Linked DNA regions of Homo sapiens: all the other regions are linked to region 1. Evidence: promoter capture Hi-C in 16 types of primary human blood cells and fetal thymus (Javierre and others, 2016). All regions are on one chromosome and are shown on one strand. Each heading gives the region's core, a stretch centred on a gene start or on the middle of the fragment in contact. The rest is flanking DNA. Distances are from core to core; before and after follow the strand shown. Region 1 holds the start of WAPL (WAPL cohesin release factor). Region 2 overlaps GHITM (growth hormone inducible transmembrane protein). Region 3 has its middle 8.5 kb from the start of GHITM. Region 4 has its middle 12 kb from the start of CCSER2. Region 5 has its middle 12 kb from the start of LINC00858. Region 6 overlaps CCSER2 (coiled-coil serine rich protein 2). Region 7 overlaps LINC00858 (long intergenic non-protein coding RNA 858).

Evidence for each region. The method cuts DNA at HindIII sites, captures the fragments that hold promoters and counts their contacts. A CHiCAGO score of 5 or more calls a contact.
Region 2: a contact is called between a fragment that was not itself captured here and the fragment with the promoter of WAPL in region 1, in 4 of 17 cell types (activated CD4 T cells, naive CD8 T cells, total B cells and 1 more). The highest score is 8.4, in activated CD4 T cells.
Region 3: a fragment that was not itself captured here is called in contact with the fragment with the promoter of WAPL in region 1 in 1 of 17 cell types (neutrophils); the score reaches 7.5 in neutrophils.
Region 4: a contact is called between a fragment that was not itself captured here and the fragment with the promoter of WAPL in region 1, in 4 of 17 cell types (M0 macrophages, total CD4 T cells, fetal thymus and 1 more). The highest score is 7.0, in M0 macrophages.
Region 5: a fragment that was not itself captured here is called in contact with the fragment with the promoter of WAPL in region 1 in 1 of 17 cell types (naive CD8 T cells); the score reaches 6.3 in naive CD8 T cells.
Region 6: a fragment that was not itself captured here is called in contact with the fragment with the promoter of WAPL in region 1 in 2 of 17 cell types (fetal thymus and naive CD8 T cells); the score reaches 6.0 in fetal thymus.
Region 7: a contact is called between a fragment that was not itself captured here and the fragment with the promoter of WAPL in region 1, in 1 of 17 cell types (M0 macrophages). The highest score is 8.8, in M0 macrophages.

Annotation. Positions count from the first base shown.
Region 1 is chr10:86,520,501-86,523,426 of GRCh38, reverse strand. It overlaps WAPL (WAPL cohesin release factor), which reads left to right and starts at 1,635. Exons shown (of 19, transcript NM_015045.5): 1 at 1,635-2,062. WAPL-DT (WAPL divergent transcript) reads right to left here and starts at 1,480. Exons shown (of 2, transcript NR_186498.1): 1 at 1,018-1,480; 2 at 1-918. RefSeq lists silencers at 1,022-1,581, 1,722-2,141. The HindIII fragment of the contact is 16,574 bases long and covers 1-2,926 here.
Region 2 is chr10:84,149,179-84,152,056 of GRCh38, reverse strand. It overlaps GHITM (growth hormone inducible transmembrane protein), which reads right to left. Exons shown (of 9, transcript NM_014394.3): 7 at 1,814-2,002; 8 at 1,177-1,348. Among named protein-coding and RNA genes, the nearest start is that of GHITM, 11 kb to the right of the region's middle. The HindIII fragment of the contact is 2,134 bases long and covers 206-2,339 here.
Region 3 is chr10:84,129,381-84,132,565 of GRCh38, reverse strand. No RefSeq gene overlaps it. Among named protein-coding and RNA genes, the nearest start is that of GHITM, 8.5 kb to the left of the region's middle. The HindIII fragment of the contact is 6,346 bases long and covers 1-3,185 here.
Region 4 is chr10:84,314,655-84,317,752 of GRCh38, reverse strand. No RefSeq gene overlaps it. Among named protein-coding and RNA genes, the nearest start is that of CCSER2, 12 kb to the left of the region's middle. RefSeq lists an enhancer at 2,839-3,098. The HindIII fragment of the contact is 1,206 bases long and covers 648-1,853 here.
Region 5 is chr10:84,266,373-84,269,719 of GRCh38, reverse strand. No RefSeq gene overlaps it. Among named protein-coding and RNA genes, the nearest start is that of LINC00858, 12 kb to the left of the region's middle. RefSeq lists an enhancer at 1-504. The HindIII fragment of the contact is 1,269 bases long and covers 1,113-2,381 here.
Region 6 is chr10:84,333,430-84,336,489 of GRCh38, reverse strand. All of the region lies in intron 1 of CCSER2 (coiled-coil serine rich protein 2), which reads right to left. Among named protein-coding and RNA genes, the nearest start is that of CCSER2, 6.4 kb to the right of the region's middle. RefSeq lists an enhancer at 2,484-2,533. The HindIII fragment of the contact is 3,683 bases long and covers 1-3,060 here.
Region 7 is chr10:84,293,853-84,296,926 of GRCh38, reverse strand. LINC00858 (long intergenic non-protein coding RNA 858) reads right to left here. Exons shown (of 6, transcript NR_038220.1): 6 at 2,268-3,074. Among named protein-coding and RNA genes, the nearest start is that of LINC00858, 15 kb to the right of the region's middle. RefSeq lists an enhancer at 1,794-2,033. The HindIII fragment of the contact is 2,234 bases long and covers 652-2,885 here.

The DNA.
Region 1 (2,926 bases), core at 386-2,885:
ATAATTATAGTAAGTGCAGCCTGCACCTCTGCCAGAAGATCTTTAAACAAAATGATAAAAACAAGTTCCTAAACTGCCAATTAAAAAAAGAGACAAAACTGACCCAAATAAAACAGTCATGTGCATCCCACCCACAGTGGAAGACATGGACTTGTTTTTCATATAAACTACAGAAGAAGTTGATTTATTTTGAAACAAGAAAAAGTACTGATTCAGTATTTAGGAAATTGTAAATGTCAGAATATAAATTCTGCAGTCAGGTAGGCAAAACAATCCAACCACACTAAAATCCACCTTAAATTCCTCTTGGGAAGAGCTGCAGGGTCTCTGAACTATTTTTCCTTTATTTGGAGTTTCCCCGATTATACCGGAGGGAGCTGGATAACTTCTGGGTGCATTAAAAGCAAATTATCCATTTGTGGGAGAAGGGCGGGCTTCTCACTGAAAGCAATTAGTAGTTTTCTAATTTCCCAGGTGGGTCTCCATTAACCGCCTAACAAACACCAAGGCTGTCGGAGTCCGACGAATCATGCACCTCTCTTAGGGGGAACTGGTTGCGCTACTCTTTAGAACGCTGTTTTCCCATGGTAGCCTTAAAAAAAACTTACCAATTTTCTGAATTAGGTAACACATTGAATGGGAAAAACCTAAGATAGCACAAAAAGGCGTACAGCGAAAAATTAAGACTCCTTCCTCCCGTCATCCGCCACCTCACTGTCCTCCCTAGAGGCAATCGCTGGTTCACTTCTTTAAACTTTTTATTATGGAAAATTTCAGATACACAAGTAAAGAGACTGTATGATGAGCACATATGCTCGCATCACGCAGCTTCAACGATGAAAAACGTTCTGCCAGCTTGTTTTATTCCTCTCCCCCAGTTTTCATAGGCGTATTTTACAGTCCTGACACCAGATCACTCTGTCAACACATCAGTAGGTCTTAAAAAAAAAAAAACAAAAAACCATAACCACATTACCGTTACCACACCCAACAAAGTTAATGATAATTGCTCAATACCATCCAATATTCTCGGGGCCACTTTCAATCGGTGAGGGGCAGACGGACTTAGAGGAAGGACTGCAGGGCTGGAGGGGCGCGAAAAAGCGAGGGGCGACGCTGCTCGTGGCCTCGGGTGTCCGGCGCCTCGCGGTCCCCGCCATCGTCACCTACGCCGGGCCAGGACCGACCAGGCCAGGTCGAGGGCGGCTCTTGACCACGCGCCCCCTGCCTCCCAGCTCCCGGGCGGCGGCCTCCGCAGGCCCGGCACAGCTGCACAGCCCGCGGTCCCCAGGCACCGGCGGGTCCCTGGAGGGGAAGCGATTGATACAGCTGCCTGCACTGCGCCACCCGCCCGGCTGCCCATCTCCGTGGCACCTGCGTCTCCCGGCTGGGCCGGGAGCTAGAAGTGGCTGCCGAGACCGGGAGGGCCCGGCCAGTCGCCCGCTCCCGCTCCCGCGCCTGGTCCTCGGCCCGCGACCTCGCGGACCTGGACTACAACTCCCGTCGGGCTCCGCGGCCGGGCCAATGGCGGGCGCCGGAGCATGCGGGGCGCAGCGCCTGCGCGGCGGTTTGAGTAAGCGGCTGCGCGATTGGCTGCGGGGTCGGGCGGCCGCGCGGGGACTGTGGGAAGCGGAGTGACGGAGCGAGCGGCTGTTGGAGGAAGGAGGTGGGGGCCGGGAGCGCAAATGGCGTTGAGATGGTTCAGGGCCCTGTTCAAACTCCAGCACTGACCATTCACCGGCGGAAGCGGCGGCGCAGGAGGCGGCGGCGGCCCAGCGGGGGCACACAGCAGGCTCTGTTACCAGCTCCAGCAGTGGCGGCCAGCGAGAGCTAGGCCTGGGCCCGGCCGGCGGCGCTCGAGGCGGGGAGGGAAGTTGCGGGGCCGCCGCTCCTGCCCCCCCAACCGGGCTTCCTATTTACCGAAAGCAGAGTCCCTCGCCTCTCTCGGCTCTCACCTGCCGGCCCTGCTCTCCCGCGCGAGGGTTCCGCGCCCGCCCGCGGGCCGTAGGGAGCGGGAGAGGCGGAGGCGGCCCGTGGCCAAAGCACCCGCCAGGCTCCGAGGGTAAGTGAGGTGTCGGGCGGCCGCCTAGGCCGGGAGGGAGCCGGGAGGGTGGGGGAGGCAGAGGCTGGGAGCGGGCGGTGGAAGTCTCACTGCCTCGCCCACCGGGCCGCTGAGGAAGTTGGGCAGGGGAATGACCTGAGGAACTCTTTTTTTCCCCTTTTATTTTCCTTTTTCGGAGTTCTTTTTCGGGCGACTGCTGATTGACTTAGCTCCCCAAACCCAGTCAAGTGTGTTGATTTCAGCCCCGAGTCCTTTCCCGTGGTTTCATCCGCCTCTGGCCGCCACTGGGGCCTTGCACTGCCTTAAGGATTCGGTGGCAGAGGCTTCCGGGGCGTCGAAAGTGACCTCCCTTTCCTGGGCGGCGCGGGTTGGGAGGAGAAAAGTTGCATTGAGTGTCTAGTCCGAGGGGTCCATCGCGCCCACTGCCCGTGGCGCCCCGGCTGTCCCCAGGTGAGGATTTCTGGTTAGTCAGGTTCGTCCCGTCCGCTTTCCATCTTTAATGGAAGCCCTTAAAGCCTTTGGGGATCGGGAAGACGCTAGATTAGGGTGGGAGTGAAGTATAAAGGCTTTTTGCTTTTTTTTTTTTTTTTTTTTTTTTAAATCACAGCGCACTTCTCTCAAAATTCGACCTGATTTTGGGCTAGGGCAAAAGCCGAACGACCGAAAAGACTTAGTCGTCAATCATTCTTTCCTTTTTAGTTAGGACAGTCTTTGGAGTTTAAAGGTTGAGCAAGATTGTGTACTTGAAACACTTAAAATTTAACTTCAAGGACGTCTGCACACTTATTTTGGAATCTGTAGTGCTTTACGCTTAGATAATGCCATTGCAAAGACATTTTATTGTGGGAAACGATAAAGGCAATC
Region 2 (2,878 bases), core at 23-2,522, 2.4 Mb after region 1:
GAGCAGTTTAAAAAAATCATTATTTTATTCTCTGACACTCTGCATATATCAACTTGCAAAGAAAACTAGGTGGCAGACAATGAAATAATCAAAACAAGACCAAAGAAACACCTTTATAAAAACCTGTTAGACACAAGTCTAGCATTTTTTAATATAAAAGACCCACTTCACCCCTCTAAAGAAAACTTCTACAAATCTGTAAGCTTTACAGTACAGCAACTTTTTCTTCCCCCTAAACCATTACATTAAGTTTTATTTTTAGATAAAATCAAATTACTTTAAAAAAATGTGACAGACACAATGAAACTCAAGAAAATTGTTTAAATAAAATAACCCACTTTGGTCGACTCCAAGAAAAAAGAAAAAAACATAATAACAATTAATACCAACTAAAGTTGCATATCTCTGAAACTAGACTCTTTATACTGAAGAGTTTCTAATTTCTAGAAGTATAAAATAGGCTTTTCTATTAAAAATTCCATGTCAATTATATACATTTTCCAATAAATAATACTTGATTAATACATTTCTTCAGTTTTAAAGTCTGCAAAATACACTACCAAAAAAATTAACTGAGCAGTAAGAGCACATTATTTATTGCACCCTGACACTGGCTCACAAAAATAGACAAAATATTCTGATAATGGAATGAATACCTAAGTATTACACTAAGTTGCAATAAAATCAAGAGGTTTTTTTGGATAGTTTACTAAAGAGAGAACAGACAAAACTGCAACAGAAGTAAAACAGGAAATCTGACAAAGCCATTGGTGTGGTTTGAGCTGTGACCCTCCTCTGCCCCCCAACAAAATATAATGAAATCCTAATCCCTGGTACACAGGAAGAGCACCATGTGAAGATGGAGACAGAGACTGGAATGATCCATCTACAAGCCAAGGAATGTCAAGGACTGCCAGCAGTAACAAGAAGCTGAGAGGCAGGGAACAGATTTTCCCTCAGGGCCCTCAGAAGTACAACTCTGCTAACACCTTGATTTTAGATTTCTGGCCTCCAGAACTACAAGAGAATCAAGTTTTGTTTTAAGCCACCCAGTCTGCGATACTTTGTTAACAGTATCCCTAGAAAACTAATACAGCCATAAACCAAAACAGGTCAAATACACACAAGCATCCTTATGTGACAGAGTAACAGTGTTAAATAAAAAGCATTACTTACGAGTTAATGGGATCATATTTTTGAACTCCATACATTGGTGATACTTCTGCACGCTTGATTACTTTCTGGGTATCATACAGAAGGAACATGCTGAAAAGAACTAATCCACCGTACATTGCCACTGAGTAAAGAGTGGCACCAGCCACGGTGGTAGGTGGAAGAAACATAGATCCTGAAATCAAAATGCGAAAACAAGATTTTTTTTAAAAAAGGATTTCCGATAACTGAGTTTATGATTTATATTACTTAAAAAAAAATCTCCTTGGTATACTGTGTAGGTAAGACGACATCTGGGTACATGTACTGTCTAATCTTATTTGCATTAGTTCAAAATCCATGATACTCATTCCTCCAATGAGCCACTTGCCCATTTCACAGGAAGGTTCTTGCATCAGAGCAATATTCATGTTCTCCAGACCAACTTTCCCATTTTAGATGTGTTTGGTAAAGCCAGTAATAATGGTTGACCATGTTGCCATGATTTTTATATGATGTCAGGTAGTAAAATCCAGTCAAATTAGCATAAATCTTTAAAAAAACTTTTAAAATAAATGACTCAATCAATTAGGATATTGGAGTATTTCAGGTTACAGGAAACTATGCACCAAGAATTAAGTGTTAAAACACAGCAGCTTACCCAATGAGGACACAAAGACGAGACCCAGGCCCACTCCCAGGGGTGCACCCATGTTCAGAAACTTTTCACTGGGCGCACACATGGCCACAGTGGAGAGGCCTCCCACAATGCCAGCTGTGTACCATGCAGCTCTGATGAGAAGAGGACCCCCTAATATTGTCAGAGGAGCCACCACTGCACCCATCACACCTGGAGAAAGAGGAAGTGCTCATTAAGTATTTACTAAATAACAAGCAAAAGGAAAATATCACTTCTAACATGCCACTTTATATTATACCTTACTGTTTAAGCACTATGATTCAAAAAGTTCTGCCTTTAGATAATACTACCCCCACCAAATTCTACAGCCCAAATTGGTGACTACTCAAATTCTATATCACAACATTAACACTATTCCTAATCAATCACACTCACAAGCAAACACTAATCTACTTATTTAGTAACCATCAAATTCCATGTAGCTATTTGAATCTGAGCTTACCACTAGTTTCTACAACATTCATATAATAATTGAGATAAACAAGCTTAAAACAAATAACTCAAGGTCAAACCTACTGCTGTCAAAAGGGAAAGCATATGATGATAAACTTAAAATGTGGGAACTTCTAAGACAGACACTGCTGTTTCTTTATGTAATAAGGACTGCTAACAGCTTATAAATAAGTAATTTTAGTTGTCAGATATTTATAAACAATTTCGTAAAAAATTTACCAGTAATTCAACAAAGGTAAATGGAACTCCTTAATTGAAAAAAAACTTAGATAATGCATTATTTCAGTGCTAAGAAGAATAAGTTACCTTTTTCTTAAATGTCGTTTACCTCATAGACTAGGCACAAAGCTATCTTTATACTGAATTTTCAATACTAGCTTAAAGAATAACATTTCTAGATCAAGTTATATGGTTAATAAGGTATACTATCTCATGATGATGAATAATTTAAAAATACTTTTTGCTCTAGGCAAAACAGTGGGTGAAATTTCTACACAGAACACTTCTATTAGGACTCCTCTCAGTTTTTTGTTATTTCGCAGCAACATTTTTAGCACAACTTTCTCTATCCTC
Region 3 (3,185 bases), core at 18-2,517, 2.4 Mb after region 1:
CAACTATAGGTTAGGCCCATGCTTATGCTCTTAGGTTAACTGGTAATAGAAAAAGGTCCATGAAATCATAGATTTGGGTTGAGAAAAAGGTGGCAAAGCAGGAACAAAAGATACCATGAGAGTCTCAGGCATTTACCCAAGCAGTTATTTGCGTCCTCAAAACCTGCTTGAGACTGTTCCTGTAAATACTGTTTCCGTTAACAAAGGAATAATGTTGAGAATGTCCAATCTTATTGATTTGGAGGATCAGGCAACACCCAGTTTATGATCCTGGGTCCTGAAGTCACTTGGTTTTCCTTGGCCATGTACTCATGACCTCTGCTGCCTTACCAAACAGGTGCCACCTTTTTGCCTTGGCAACTAGATGCCACAATTATCTCCCAATTAATTTCTCTGGACCTACACTTCATCCCTTGTCACTACCAGTAACAATTTGGGTAATTATGATGGCACCACATGTCTGCAAAAGAGGTGATCTGTCCTCTAATCAAATGTGTGAGCAATTTTAGAATCCTATTTTGAAGGTTTTTCTCCTGGGTACCACTTATTTTATTAGCATCTGGTAGGAAACAGATGGTACATCAAAAAGAGGCGATTGAAGAATGTCTAACACAATCACTATTGACAAATGTGTATGCTGGGATAACAGAAACAGAACGGATAGTAAAGCACCCTGGAATTAGCAGCAGTGGGAAGCCGTTACCATGTTGGTCCTAGAGGAACAATGGGTGGGAACAGTTAGTGGATCCTGGCAGGGATTGGAGGTATAGGAGAAGGATCACCAAACAGGTGCCATAGCCACCATTCAACCATGGCATGGCAGGATGGGAACCAAAGGGATAAATATCTCAACCTCTCACCCTCTAATTTCCTCCTGATGGCTGAACCCAACTCTAACACAGAAGGAGCTAGGACAATACAGTTCCCAGGGGTCAGCCTCCCAGGGACCAGGGTAGGGTAGAGGAGTAGATCTCAAGTTTCTCATCTGTTGTGGACTGAATTGTGTCCCCCAGACAACTCATATATTGAAACCTTAACCCCCAATGTGACTGAATTTGGAGATGGGGTCTCCAAGGATAGAATTAAGGTTAAAGGAGATCATAAGGTTGGGGGTTGATCCAATAGAACTGGTGTCCTTATCAGAAGATGAAGAGAAACCAGAGATCTCTCTCTGTCTCTGCCATGTGAAGACACAGTGAGAAGTTGGCCTTCTATAAGACAGGAAAAGACCTTTCACCAGGAACCAACCTGGCTGGCACCTTGATCTTGGACTTCTAGCTTCCCAAACTGTGAGAAAAATAAATGTATATTGTTTAAATCACCCAGTCTGTGGTATTTTGTTACAGCGGCCTGAGCAGACTAATGCATCATCTATAAGATGAAGACTGTAACATGTGTCTCATGAGATTCCTATGATGATTACATGAAATAACATGGATTAGATTTCTAAATACAGTACGTGCATGATAATTGCTAATATTTATTACTTTTATTATTGGTATTCAGAGTTAAACAACCAGAGTCTCATTTCATGATTTTTAGTTACCCCTCTCTCTGTTTTTTCTTTTTATAAATTCAATTATCTTTCTTGAGGTGAATAAAATAGATCTTTATACATTATAGATACTATGTGGTCTAGGATACCTTCTTATATTCTATTTGTAGTCTGCTTTTGTTAATGTCTCACTTTTTCCACCCTCTATCATATTGAATTAGTGTCTCATTTCAGTAGTTTATAATGTCTTCCTTACTGGTTTATAACAGATGGTTCTGAGCTCATTACTCTGTAAATATAGATTATATATTTATTTTCAGAGTGAATTATTTGGTATCAGTCCCTGTTGAAGTTCACCTGCCATGTTTGAAAATGTTCTTGTCAAATAGCAGCCCCAACACTATTTTCATTTTTAACTTCTATGTTTTACATCTTGCCTTGCTTATCTTTTTAGTACATAAATGCTTATGGGTGGAAAGCACTCATTTTATATTACCTTATATGTCGGTTTTAAGTGTCAAGCACACTGATAATTTAAAAAAAATGAAAATCTTTTTAGTTAAAAAATTTCATATATTTTAGCACTAGACTTCTTTAGATTTACTGGAATGGTGGGTGTGCTTGTAATAAAGCACTGTCATCTGGACATTTCAGTTCTGAGCCACATGATCAGAGATGCACAAGTGTGGGAACTGCATGGATCTTTTTTTTTTTTTTTTTTTTTTTTTTTTTTGAAACAGAGTCTGGCTCTGTAGCCCAAGCTGGAGTGCAGTGGTACGATGTTGGCTCACTGCAACCTCTGCCTCCTGGGTTCAAGTGATTCTCCTGCCTCAGCCTTCTGAGTAGGTGGGACTGCAGGTGCCTGCCACCATGACTGGCTAATTTTTATATTTTTGGTAGAGATGAGGTTTCACCATGTTGGCCAGGCTGGTCTTGAACTCCTGACCTCAGGTGATCCACCCACCTTGGGCTCCCAAAGTGCTGGGATTACAGGCGTGAGCCACCACGCCCAGCCTGCAAGTATCTTTAAAAGATGGATAGTAGTAGCTGCGTGCAGTGACTCATGCCCTTAACCCTAGATAGTCAGGAGGCTGAGGCAGGAGGATTGCTTGAGGCCAGGAGTTCAAGGCCAGTCTGGGCAACATAATGAGACCCCATCTCTACAAAAAATAAAAAGGATAATAATGATGAGTTTGTTAGCTATTAGGTTACACCATTTTAGCAATAGTACCGCAAGTAGGCCAAAAGAGTAGTTTAATCATAGTTATGGGTGATTGAGTTCCACTCTGGGCAGACATTACTAGTACATTGGTCACTTTGCATTTATTATATTGTGTACTCTTCTAAGATGGTCTCAGAGGCTTGCCCTTCCCCTGTTGTCCACCTCTACAAGAATTTAAATGGCTTTATTTATTTAACCAGGGACAGGGCTTTTTTAGGTGTGTGCATTGGTGGGCAAAAAGGGCCACCAAATTAAGGATTTTCAAGGGAGGAATTACAATGATGGACCACAGGTCTAGTCTGGGTCAGAATGGAGGGGAGAAGGATGAGAGAAAGTAAAAGCTGGTTTGGTGGGTGGATTGGACATTTTCAAATTTGTATAATTGCTTGAGCTGGTGATTTCAATGAAATGAGGTTGCAGTAAAAACAAAAATTAGATGTCTGAAATTCAGATTTTGGAAGAAGTGTA
Region 4 (3,098 bases), core at 1-2,500, 2.2 Mb after region 1:
CATATATTAATGAAACACTTTGCATTCTCAAATTTCAATTTGACATTGAAACACTGCATTCTTAAAATCAACCCCACTTGATCACAATGCATCATTTAATCTGCTGCCAGGGTCTATTTTAAGTTTTCTGCATTGAAATTCTTAAGGGAGAATTGTCTGTGGTTTTCTTTTATTGGAATAAAAATCTTTGAAATTTATTCCAAACAAATCTGAAATATATAGGAATAAAAACAATGCAATCTTTGTCAGGTTGGGGGATTAATAGTATAATTAATAGAGACTCTTGTCTCTACAAAAAATACGCTTCCTAAAATGAAATGTCCTGAAATAGTTTAAGTAACAATGGAATTAGCTGATCCTTAAAGATTACGTAGTCCTTTGTGATATCATTTGGCTTAGTGTTTCTTTGTTTTTATGAAAGAACTATTCAGCCTTTTCATTTCCTCCTCAGAAATTAGTTTTAGACTTTCTGTTTCTACTGGTTTCAATTTTAGTAAGTTGTATTTGTCTAAAAAATACCCATTTCTTCCAGATTTTCATACTTATTTGCACAGAGTTGAACAAAGTACTTTCTTCTTAAATTGCTTTCTATTTTTTATGCTATTATTTCTATATTTTTGTATTTGTGTTTTCTCTTCTTTAAAGCTTAAATTAGATAAGAGTTTGTGTATTTTTTGTGTTTTTCAAATATCTAGCTTTTAAATTTATTATTTTTACTCTTCTGTTTTCCAAATCATTATTTATAATTTTATCTTTATTAATTCCTTTTTTGCTTCTCTTGGTTTTACTCTGCCATTTTGTTTTCTATTTCAGACATTAAATTTATTTATATTTATGCTTTCATTTTTATTGCGCCAGATACTTAAAGGCATAAATTTTCCTGTAATAACTGCTCTTTGGGAAAAATTCTCAAACCATGTTTTCCCTCTGCTTTCACACCAACACAGCAATCGACACAGAAAATGTCTGTGACCAAATGTGTGAAGTTTTTTCCCCACCAACAAGCAGTGGACACCAGCTGCATATTCTCCAATTCCATTCTGATACTATCTACTTGGAGACAGCATCAGATCCCACAGGTTGAGGGCTCTCAGTCCCTTAAGCTAGTCTCCCTCCCTTTAGACACCCAGTGGCAAGTCCGAGACTCTGGAACTTCTGACTGATCGGCTTCAAGTTGAGGTTCCCAGCTGGGGATGGTGGCTCATGTCTGTAATCCCAACACTTTGGGAGCAGGAGGATCACCTGACGACAGGAGTTTGCCATCAGCCTGGGTAACACATTGAGATCCCATCTCTATTAAATAAAAATGTTGGGGTTACATGACCCTCTTTGGATTTGATTAATTTGCTGCAGTGGCTCTTAGAACTCAAGGAAACACTTATATTTAATGGTTTATTTTATTTTATTTATTTTTTTCTGAGATGGAGTCTTGCTCTGTTGCCCAGGCTGGAGTGCAATGGCATGATCTCAACTCACTGCAAACTCCACCTCACAGGTTTAAGCAATTCTCCTGCCTCAGCCTCCAGAGTAGCTGGGATTACAGGCCTGGCCACCATGCCAAGCTAATTTTTGTATTTTTAGTAGAGACGGGGTTTCGCCATATTGGTCAGGCTGGTCTTGAACTCCTGACCTCATGATCCACCCGCCTCGGCCTCCCAAAGTGCTGAGATTACAGGTGTGAGCCACCACGCCCGGCCTAATGGTTTATTTTAAAGGATGTAACAAAGGATACCGATGAAAAGATGCATAGGCAGAGGTAGGGGGGAAGGGGTGTGCCACTCCTCAGAAACTTCCATGTATTCAGCTACCTGGAACCTCTCTGAACTCAGGCATCTTGGCTTTTCATGGAAGCTTCGGGACCTCAGCATTCTTCCCCCAGGGAATGGAGTGGAACCCTCTCTGGAATAAGGGTTTTAGGACTCACAGTCAGAAACGAGGAAAGATTAGAGTCCTGCCTTTGGGCAGGTGAAAGAAGGGGAGGAGAAGGTCAGAGAGATTCTGTTTCCTGAGACTTAACACACCCAACATTGTAACAGAAGACTAACAAAAGTTATGGGAGTTATGCGCCAGGAACTGTGGACAAAGAACAATATACATATCATAACAACAAACACAGCTACTTTAGCATTATTACAGAGATTATATGTCTTGGTTTTATTATTATTTTCAAGAAATTCAATAATTTTATTTTTTCATTTTCCAAGGAGCTGCTTAAAGGAGTATTTTTAAATTACCAGGAAAAAGGAATTTTCAGATTAAAAAAATCTGTCATTAATTTCTAGTTTTATTGCATTATGATCAGATAATGCAATTTTTAATTTCTTTTCTTTTCTTTTTTTTTTTTTTTTTTTTTTTGAGACGGAGTCTCACTCTGTCGCCCAGGCTGGAGTGCAGTGGCGCGATCTCGGCTCACTGGAAGCTCCGCCTCCCGGGTTCACGCCATTCTCCTGCCTCAGCCTCCTGAGCAGCTGGGACTACAGGCGCCCGCCACCACACCTGGCTGATTTTTTATATTTTTTAGTAGAGACGGGGTTTCACCATGTTAGCCAGGATGGTCTCGATTTCCTGACTTAGTGATCCACCCGCCTCAGCCTCCCAAAGTGCTGGGATTACAGGCATGAGCCACCATGTCCGGCCACAATTTTTAATTTCTATTCTTTGGAATTTCTTGAGATTTTCTTGGTGGCCTAATATTTGGTCAATTTTCATGAATGTTTTATGTTCATTTGAAAAAGAAGGTAATTTCTCTTTTATACATATACAGAATTCAATATTGTTTGGTAGGATCTGTTATTTTGCCCTCCCCATTTAACAACAAATAAGAAACCAAAATTGCAAGACACTAGAGGACAACCTCTAACATGGAAAATAGAGACCCAGGCAAATAAACCTGAAAGGATCTGGAAACTCCAAGAGGAAGAAAACTAGCCCCCTTATGCTTCATTCCTAAAAACTATAAGTGATACATCCAGAGAAATAAGAAAAAATATTGCATCCATGAAACAAGAATAAATGTCATAAAAAACACAAAAGAGTCCTTCAAAATGAAAAAGATATAGCAGTGATGAAAACTCAATAGAACGGCTAGAAAATAAAGT
Region 5 (3,347 bases), core at 498-2,997, 2.3 Mb after region 1:
GATCAAGAGGATGGATTCCAAACTCAGGTTCTGGTGGATTTGGGGTGCCACTTAACCTGTGCACATCTCAGCTTTTTCATCTGAAAAATGGGATTCTAAATTCTCTTCCTGCTACCTTTCTTTCATTGTTCTGAGGATCGCTCAAACAAAAGACATGAAAGAGATGTGTAATTGTAATGTATTCATTTAGATCTTCATTTATTCCTTTAGTAGCAGAATATTGGTGCTCATGGCTTTATTTGGTTTAGAGAATCACTAGTTCTAACCTTCTCATCACAGGGTTTTTCTTCTGATTCCCGAGCTGGCAGGGAGAGGCTGTGCTAAGTGGCTGAAAGTTTGTCACTCTGTCCCACACCTGCCATGTGACTACATGATGCCATGTGACTACACCCAGGACAACTCCCTTCAGCTCTTGCTCATATTTCCAGATGCTCACTAGACCTAAATGCTCACTAGATCCAAATACCTGAGTATCTAAGAGGCATCTGTATTTATTCTCCCCCAAGCCTGGTTTGTCTTCCTCATCTTGGTATATGGCACCTCCAAAACCCTAGGTACCATCCTTATGTACTCCCATGTCCTCGATTCTCACCTCATTTACAAATGGAAATGGAAATTTTCTCTACAGCATCCATTCTGCCCTCTCCCACTACTCAGCAACTATGTCATTTGTGTAGGTCTGACTACACCCGTACCTTTATTGGTACAAGCAAATTAAAATAATTTCACCCTCTTACCTATGGTGATGGTTTCCAATAAATCCCATCTAAGCTAAGCTAATCAGTCCATTGGCAGCTGGGGATTAATGGGAGTATTAAGCCAACTATCATTTTAATTCTCCTGGAAACAGGGATTTGTTTAGAAGTGGTCGAATCAAGCCCCAACTCAAGATTTTTATTTTATGGTTATTGGGAATGATGCTTGCTTCCTCCTATATGTGAACAGAACTAACTCACAATCATGTACGTATATTGTTCTAGGAGCCATCTTGGAGTTATTAATAAAGTTAGCGTAAGAATAAATGGACACATAGAGAGTGGGAGAGAGAAAGGGCAGACCTGAGAATCACAGAAAAATAAACCTGGAGACCTGATCAAACCTTGCATGAAGCTTCCACTCTTCCACTTTTCATTTGTGGGAATCTGTAAGTTGCACTTATTTTTCAGACTGTTAATATTTACATTTTCTGTTACCTGAAATCAAAAGCACCCAAACTGATAAACTTACTTAAACCACTAGCAAGTCATGTAACATCTGTTTCTAAAACTGTGTAACAAATCTGTCCATATCTCACTGTTATCGTCACCACCACCTAGTTCAAGGCAGCAGCATCTTTGGTCTGGACTATTGTAACAATCCCTACTTCAATTTTCAGCCTCTACTGTTCAATGTAGCCCCCAAACAGCAGCCAGAGACATCAGTTAAAAATGGAAACCAGATCTGGTTACTTTCTTGATGAAAACCTTTCAAAGATTTTCATTTGCTCTTAAAATAAAACTCACTGTTCCCCTTCCCCATCCCAGCCAGCCCTACTGGATGGACATGTCCCCTGCGTCTCCCGTTGCTTCTCTTTGGGCTTTCTGCCCCAGCCTCATGCCTCTCCTCGAACAGCCACTCCCTTTCCCACTTGCTGTTCCCTCTGCCTGAAATATTTTCCTTTTGCCCTCACCTGACAGCCTTATTATTATCGTTTAAGTCACAGCTTGAATATCACCTCTTCAGAGAGGTCTTTCCCAACCACCTCTCCCAGCTTCCCTATCTGTTCCCTAGTTTATGTCCTCCAAAGTGCTTATCAAAATTTGTAACGATTTCTTTTATACATTTACTTGTTTATTGTCAGTACAATGTAAGCCCCTCATGAGGACCTTGTCTGTCTTGTTTAAACTTGACTTACAGTTAGGCTCAATAAATATTTGTTGAATTGTTGTTGAATGGTGAACACCCAACAGCTGTGCGGCAACAGGAAATGCCATAGGGAGGTGCACCAGAGCGCCACCCAGTGGCATCTTAGGCCTGGCATGGAGGTTTTCAGAGCTCAGTCCAATGACACAACTTGAAACATTGATCTGAATCATCTGGCAGGTGAGAGACAATGAACACCCAGTCAGAGGCTGGGAAGTGATGGAGGAGCAGCTAGGATCATAATCGGTTGCTTTGGCTGAACACACTGCAACTCAGTAACATCGGTTTACTTGGGAGTTTGTTAGAAATGCATCCTTGGTCCCTACCCAGGCCTACTGAACCAGAGTCTGCATTTAACAAGATCCCAGGTGATTTGTGTGCACCGAAGAGTTTGAGAAGTGCTGCTCTACAGCATCTTGGATGTGCATTGCCTGCACTGATATCCAAAAATCCCTGTGCCAGGAGGCACAAACCAAGCTTTCTCATTTACTGTATGACCTTCAGCAGTATTATTAACCTCTTATTCTTTAGTGCGCCCACTAAAAGCCCTGGCCCTATTATCTTGTGGATGATATCATGATAATAAAATAAAAAGCCTTGGGCTGAGGCTCTCCTGCTGGCCTATGGTCTTTGGAATTTGGGAGAATTAGTAAGAGAAAGATGAGAGCAAGCCATAGAACAAGAGCAAGTGAAGAAGAATGAACACCTAGAGAGAAATATATATTAATATAAAACAGCAAACAATGGCCTCAGAGATAACTCAGAGTAAATCTCAGTTAAATCACTCTTCATGAAACAGAACTGTTCATACCACTCCCCAAAAGTGGTGGTTCTCACTCATGGCTGCATATCAGAATCACCTGGGAGCTTAAAAAGCCCAAGCCAGCCAGCCCTTTAAACCTACCACATCAGAATCTCTGTGCCAGGGACCTAGACAGCTATAATCTGTAAGGCTCTCTGGGGCTTCTCAAGTTTTAAGGTGCACACAAACCAACTCTAGGGGTCGTTAAAATGAAGATTTGGATTAAGGAGTTCTGAGCTGGGCCCTGAGACTTGAGGGCCTGAGACATTTCTTTTTAAAAAATTTTTATTTTATGTATGTATGTATGTATGTATGTATGTATGTATGTATGTATGTGTGTATGTATGTATTTACAGAGACAAGGGCTCACTATGTTGCCCCGGCTGGTGTCCAGCTCTTGGACTCAAGTGATCCTTCCATCTCAGCCTCCCAAAGTGCTGGGATTACAGGCATGAGCCACCACGCCCAACCCTGAGACATTTCGAACAAGCTCCCAAATGAGGTTGGGGCTTCCAGTGCAGGGATAACACATTGAGTCACCAGGAACCAGGTGATTCAAATTTGCAAACGAAGTTGAGAACTGTGCTTGTGAGGATGTTGTGGGGATTAAATGAGGGAGTAGTTGGGACACTTGTGGTGTGTA
Region 6 (3,060 bases), core at 499-2,998, 2.2 Mb after region 1:
TGTTCAAATACTAGTTTTTATTACAGCCTTCCCTAACCACCTTAGATAAAACAGCAGCATCACCCTCACATGTTCTTTTCACCTCTTCCTGCTTTTTCTCCACAGCAATGTAATAGATGACATATTACACATATACTTATTTTCTGTATCTTGTCATTAGAATGTAAGCTCCACAAAGGCAGAAAATTTGTTTTGTTGACTGAACTATTCCTAGCAAGTGCTCGGAATACATTTCTTGAATGAATGAATGAGAAAAATCCAGACTGAGAATCTATTCTCTAAGCCAGGATTGAAGGAATTTAGAATGTAAAACATCTCAAGTCCTGGAAAAACATGACTGCAAGAAAGGCCACAACAATGGCCAAGTCTACATCTCTAGCTAGTACCAATAATAAATAAAGGTTGACAAGCCATACCATACTACTCCTAAAATGAGGAAAATATACCTGAGAAAAAATTTTAAATAAGGAAAAGAAACAAAACAAAACAGAAAGATGGCCATCCCTGCCTCCCCACCCCGAAAAGAAATATCACCTGGATGTTTCCTATAAAGTGGCCTACCAACTCTGACCAAAATATCATCAAGTCCATTCTACAGACTTAAATAGCTATTATGAATAGTCCCTGTTTTTCTAAGCTAAGATCTTCAGAGAAAATTATTATATAACTCCCAACCCTAACACTGGCTGCCAAGAGATAATGGTCAGAGAAAGCTCTCAAATTGCCCTAAAGCACTCAGGCTGCAACGAAATATCATTAATATGATGACAACAACAATTCAAAGTACCTTCTGGTATCTGTCTTGCTTCTTTGTCCCTAGCGTATTCACTAGGGCCTTCGTCATCAAAGGTTTTGCAATCTTGACATGGGGGCAGTGTTGGGGAGGAGGGTAGGCAACTCAAAAAAACAGGACTGGAATTTAATTTTGCATTTTAAAGAAAAGCAGGGCCAGTTGTGGTGGCTCACACCTGTAATCCCAGCACTTTGGGAGGTAAAAGCAGGAGGGTCATTTGAGCCCAGGAGTTTCAGCCCAGCCTGGGTAACATGGGGAGACCCTGTCTCTATGGAAAATTTTTAAAATTAGCCAGGCATGGTGGTACATGCCTGTAGTCCCAGCTACAGGTTGAGTACAGGTTGGGAAGCCAAGGCAGGAGGATAGCTAGAGCCCAGGAGGTCAAGGCTGCAGTGAGCCATGATGACACCACTGCACTCCAGCCTGGGTCCAGAGACCCTGTCTCAAAAAAAAAAAAAAAAAAAAAAAGAGAGAGAGAGAAGTAGAATGCTGGGGAACAGAAAACACTTGCTCAGATACAAGATGTCACTGGGCTTTTCAATACCAGGCACCAAAAGAGAGATCACAGAAGGACCAAAACCCTGAGATGCCCATCGTTCCTCAGCTAAAGAGCCATGCCTTGCATTTCTATTCTCACACACAGAACTCAAGATACAGGGTAGGAGACCATGCCAAAGTGAACAGCTGGGAGCAGCGATGGCAGGGAGGAGAGCAGTAACAACTACCATAACAAAGGGAAGGAAGGAGTAATCCCTCATGCTTTTTCTCTTTTCCCTTTCCCACTGTCCTTATCAAGGACAGAAACAGGGTAGATGAAAACAGGAGAAGGCAGAGAACAGAGGGTAAGGATGGCCTGAAGCAAATGGTTGTAGAAAAAAATCAATAGCAAATTCCTTTACCAAGTAACTCTTTGAAAAACAGACATATGAAGTAAGTTAGGAGCTGACCAAGAAAATTTAAAACAAGCCCCTGTCTTACGTAGCTATAAAGTACAAAGAAAACAGAGATTCTTAATTATTTGGAATAATCTGTGGCATTTTTAAGACCAACAGTCTTCAAAGATGATCCAACTATACTGAAACTAAGCTACTGATCAACTTGAAAAAATAAACAGGTAAAAAACTTCAGTGCTCATGGATCCAACCTTTAAGAATCCTCTGGCTTCCCAATGGCTCCAAACCTTAATATAATCAACCAGAAGTCTTTAAAGGTAGAGAAGTAACTCTAGGACATTCCAAACCAATCAACTCATCAGAGAAGAGCTAAAAACTCAGAAATTACATCTCACATACTATGATTGGTCAATTCACTTAAAAAGAAAGGACTGTTCTCATTGGTTGATCTCAATAGGCTGAATCACACCCCAGCATCAGCACCTGTAGCAAGCAGAAGTCAGAAGCCAAAGAGGCAGAAAGCCATCAGATACTCAGAGAAAACTTAAGTAGTCAATAACAACGGAAAGACAAGTTCACCCTATACAACCACAATCAGCTTATGACAGCAGGGCACACCAACCACAACTGTTTGTAGCCTGAGGTGGCAGCATTCTACATGCTCATGTCTGTGCTAATACTTCCCTACCCCTCTGCCTCCTCCCTGATGGCTCTTCCCCCATCCTCCCTGACAGCTGTCACATTCTAGAGCTACTCTTCCTCCACCCACTCTTTCATTTTGGTAATTTGGTGTTTCCCAGTTCAGTCTCTTGACCTTTCTGTATTATTTCATCCTATATTCACTCATTCCTCTACTCAGTCCCTATCTTTGACAAGCACACAATCCAGTGGGGGAGACAGATATGTTACTAGAATAGGTACAATACATCACAGTCAACGCTGTGAAAGAAATATAACAAAGTGCTGTGAGCACATATTCATCTGTCATTACCCCACTCAATGTCTTCCAAATCAATACACTGCCTTCCCACTCTGTTGTGTATCAGTTACTAATTCCTATATATTTCCAAAATATCCCGATCTCCACTTCCACCTCAAGGTTTAGCCTTCATTTCTCACATGAATATTTCAACCACTTCCTATTATAAACATAATTCAATATATAGCCACATTGTCACATGAGCAATCTCCCTAAAAGAGATAACATACCATATCATCCCCTTGCTTTGCAACACCTAATCTTTCCAATGTCTAAGAAATGAAGTCCAAATCCTTGGCATGGATAATAAGATAATACTTTTGAAATAGCATCTTTTAAAAGCAGGCTGACTGAGTTCCAGTTCCAATGCTTACTACCTATGTTATCCTTGGCAG
Region 7 (3,074 bases), core at 519-3,018, 2.2 Mb after region 1:
GAGGCCTCCTTTGTGAGGATGGGCACCCCAGAATGTCAGAGATGGTTAGTCACAGCTGTTTCCCTAGCACCAGCAGTAGGCACTCAAAATATGTTTTTAAAACACATTAGTGAGTGAATGACGGGGGAGGAATTCCTGTAGGTTGAGCCTGATCCAGTCAGGAACTTGGTTGGCACCAGGGAGGCAGCCAGACTAGGCGTCCCTCAGCTTTGTCTCTCAGCCCAGCCTTTAATGTCCTGGGAGAACAGGATGTTGTAAGTAAAGACGGAAAGGCCGTCATTATAACAACAAACAATCTTGCTTTAGAGCTGCACGAAGAAAATGCATCACAGAAGGCAGGGAAAGTATATTCACTGCCCTGCTTCTCTGTAGGCCACCCACATTCTTTGGCAAAGGGGACTTCTCTGTGAAACAGAGATGAAGCCCATTCCCTGGAACTAAGGTGCTTGGTGAAGCAACAGTAGCAGCCAGCAGCTTAAACCTGGTTTTAAGCACGCTGGAGGCGGCTTCGACTTTGTTTTCACCATGTAGGCTACTGTTACAAAACTTCATTAGAGAACAAGACACGCTTAAATTTTTCTACTTGTGGGGAGGGTAGTGGCAGTTTCTGTTTGTGTTTCCTCCCACCCCCACTTGGTCAAGCCTAAAGCTTATTCTTGAGCATCAGGAAGCAGAAGCACAATGGGAAGTGGGACTTTCCACTACAATCATCCTTGAGTATGAGGTCTGGGGGCTAATCCTTTCTTGTTCACATGTACAGATTAACAATGCAATGCCCATATGGGTGTTCACAGCATTTTTGCCAAACCCCCAGGCTCTCTGGGACAGAGACCTTACTATTTGGTTCAGGTGACTACTTTCTTCACTCCTCGGTGATGTACCTGCATGAAATGTCCCCAGTCATCATTGCTCGGCAGTCAGAAACTGAGGAAGGTGGATGTTCTCAGTCCAGTGGGTCTCTGGACATCAGTTGTCCACTTGAGGTACAGGAACAAATCTCTTTTTTTGTTTGTTTGTTTTAATTTTTTTGTTTTTTGTTTTTTGTTGCTCTTGTTGCCCAGGCTGGAGTGCAGAGACACAATCTTGGCTCACTGCAACCCCCGCCTCCCAGGTTCAAGCGATTCTCCTGCCTCAGCCTCCTGAGTAGCTGGGATTAGAGTTGCCCGCCACCACACCTGGCTAATTTTTGTATTATTAGTAGAGATGGGGGTTTGCCATGTTGGCCAGGCTGGTCTCGAACTTCTGAGCTGGTGATCCACCCACCTTGGCCTCCCAAAGTTCTAGGATTACAGGTATGAGCCACCACACCCGGCCCAGGAACAAATCTTTCTTACTTCATTTTTATCTCTAGGTTATGGAAAGGGGTGATGGGGGTGGGGGAGGATCCTCTGCATTGTCTTCCCTAAAAAATAGGATCAACTGGGGAGACTTGTGAGCATCCCTTGGAAGCAAAGATGGACTGAACATACCTGTCTAGGTGTCCACATACTCTCTTCAGACCCTGTGAAGGCTAATTTTTCTTGTCAACTTGGCTAGGCGATTGGGGCCAGTTGTTTGGTCAACTAGTCTGGATGTTGTTAGGAAGGCATTTTGTAGATGTGATTAACATTTACAATTGGCAGACTTTAAGTAAAGCAGATTACCCTCCATGATGTGGGTGGGCCTCATCCAATCAGATGAAGGCCTTAGGAGCAAAAGCTGAGGTGTCAGGGGAAGAAGGCATTCTGCCTCAAAACTGACATAGAAATCCTGTCTAGATTTCCAGCCCACTGGTCTGCCCTGCAGACTTTGGGCCCAAGATTACAATTTCAACTCTTGTCTGAATTTCTATCCAAAGGGCCTGCCCTAGATTTCAGACTTGCCAGCATCCACAATTGCATGACTCAATCCCTTAAAATAAATCTCAATCTTTCTCTTTCTTATTGTTTCTGTTTCTCTGAAGAACCCTGACTGAAACTGACAAAGCCTCTCTCATTGACCACACTCTGAGCCCTCTTCTCAACTAGGCCTCCTCCATGGCCTGCTGAGCCCAGTTTTAGCAAAAATTCTGCTGAGGCAGTTTATTGGGAATCCCCCCTGCCCTTGATATCTAATCAGGTCTCTCTCCCCTATCCCAAGTTCCCCATAGTAATTCTCTGTCCTCTGCCTCACTGGGCCCACTGGCTCTAAAGCCCCACTTGTCCCTGTTTGTATTTGAAGTTGAGTTCCATCTCTCTCCCTGTCCCCTTCTGTTTGGGCTGCTATAACAAAATATCATCAACCAGAAGGCTTATAAACAACAGAAATTTATCTCTCACAGTTCAGAAGGCTCAGAAGTCCATGGTCAGGACATCAGCAGATTCAGTGTCTGGTAAGGGCCAATTTTCTGGTTCGTGGATGATGCTTCCTGGCTGTGTCCTCATATGATGGAAAAGGTGAGGGGTCTCTCCCAATGCCTCTTTTAGAAGGGCACTGATCTCGTTCATGAGGGCTCTGGCCTATGACATAATCATCCCTTAAAGTGCCCACCTCCTAATTCCTTCATCTTGGAAGTGAAGTTTCAACTTATGAATTTGAGGGAGACACAAACATTGAGACCATAGCACTTACCTATTGCAATGCTCTTAAATAAACTGTCTTGCCATTTTTAACAAGTGTTTGGTGAATAATTTCTCTTTAATAATACAGACCCTATACCTAATGCCAGTAACTATAAGGACTTTATAATACTCCAGAGTCAGACTCAATTTCTCATCTGGCTGCTGCCTCCTGTGTTCCCACAGCAATCTGAAGTACTGAAGTCAAAAACAGCACATGGGCCTTGCAGCATCTGGGGTGCAGCAAGCAGGGTGAAGGGGGAGACTGCCTTAGAATGGAGGGTGGCAGCTCCAAGGAATGGGAAAGCTTCTCAATCCCTTTGGTCTAAGTGGGAAAACAAAAGAGCTGGCAGCAATCTGGGGTGAGTTAGGGCCCAGGAGCTAAAAAGCAGGCCGGTTTCATGATAACGAGCTTCTTTTTTGTGTAGGATGACTGTAGCAAGTTTATCTGCAAGACCCACAGGGACCTCAGCAATGACACATTGTGGGATAGATTGG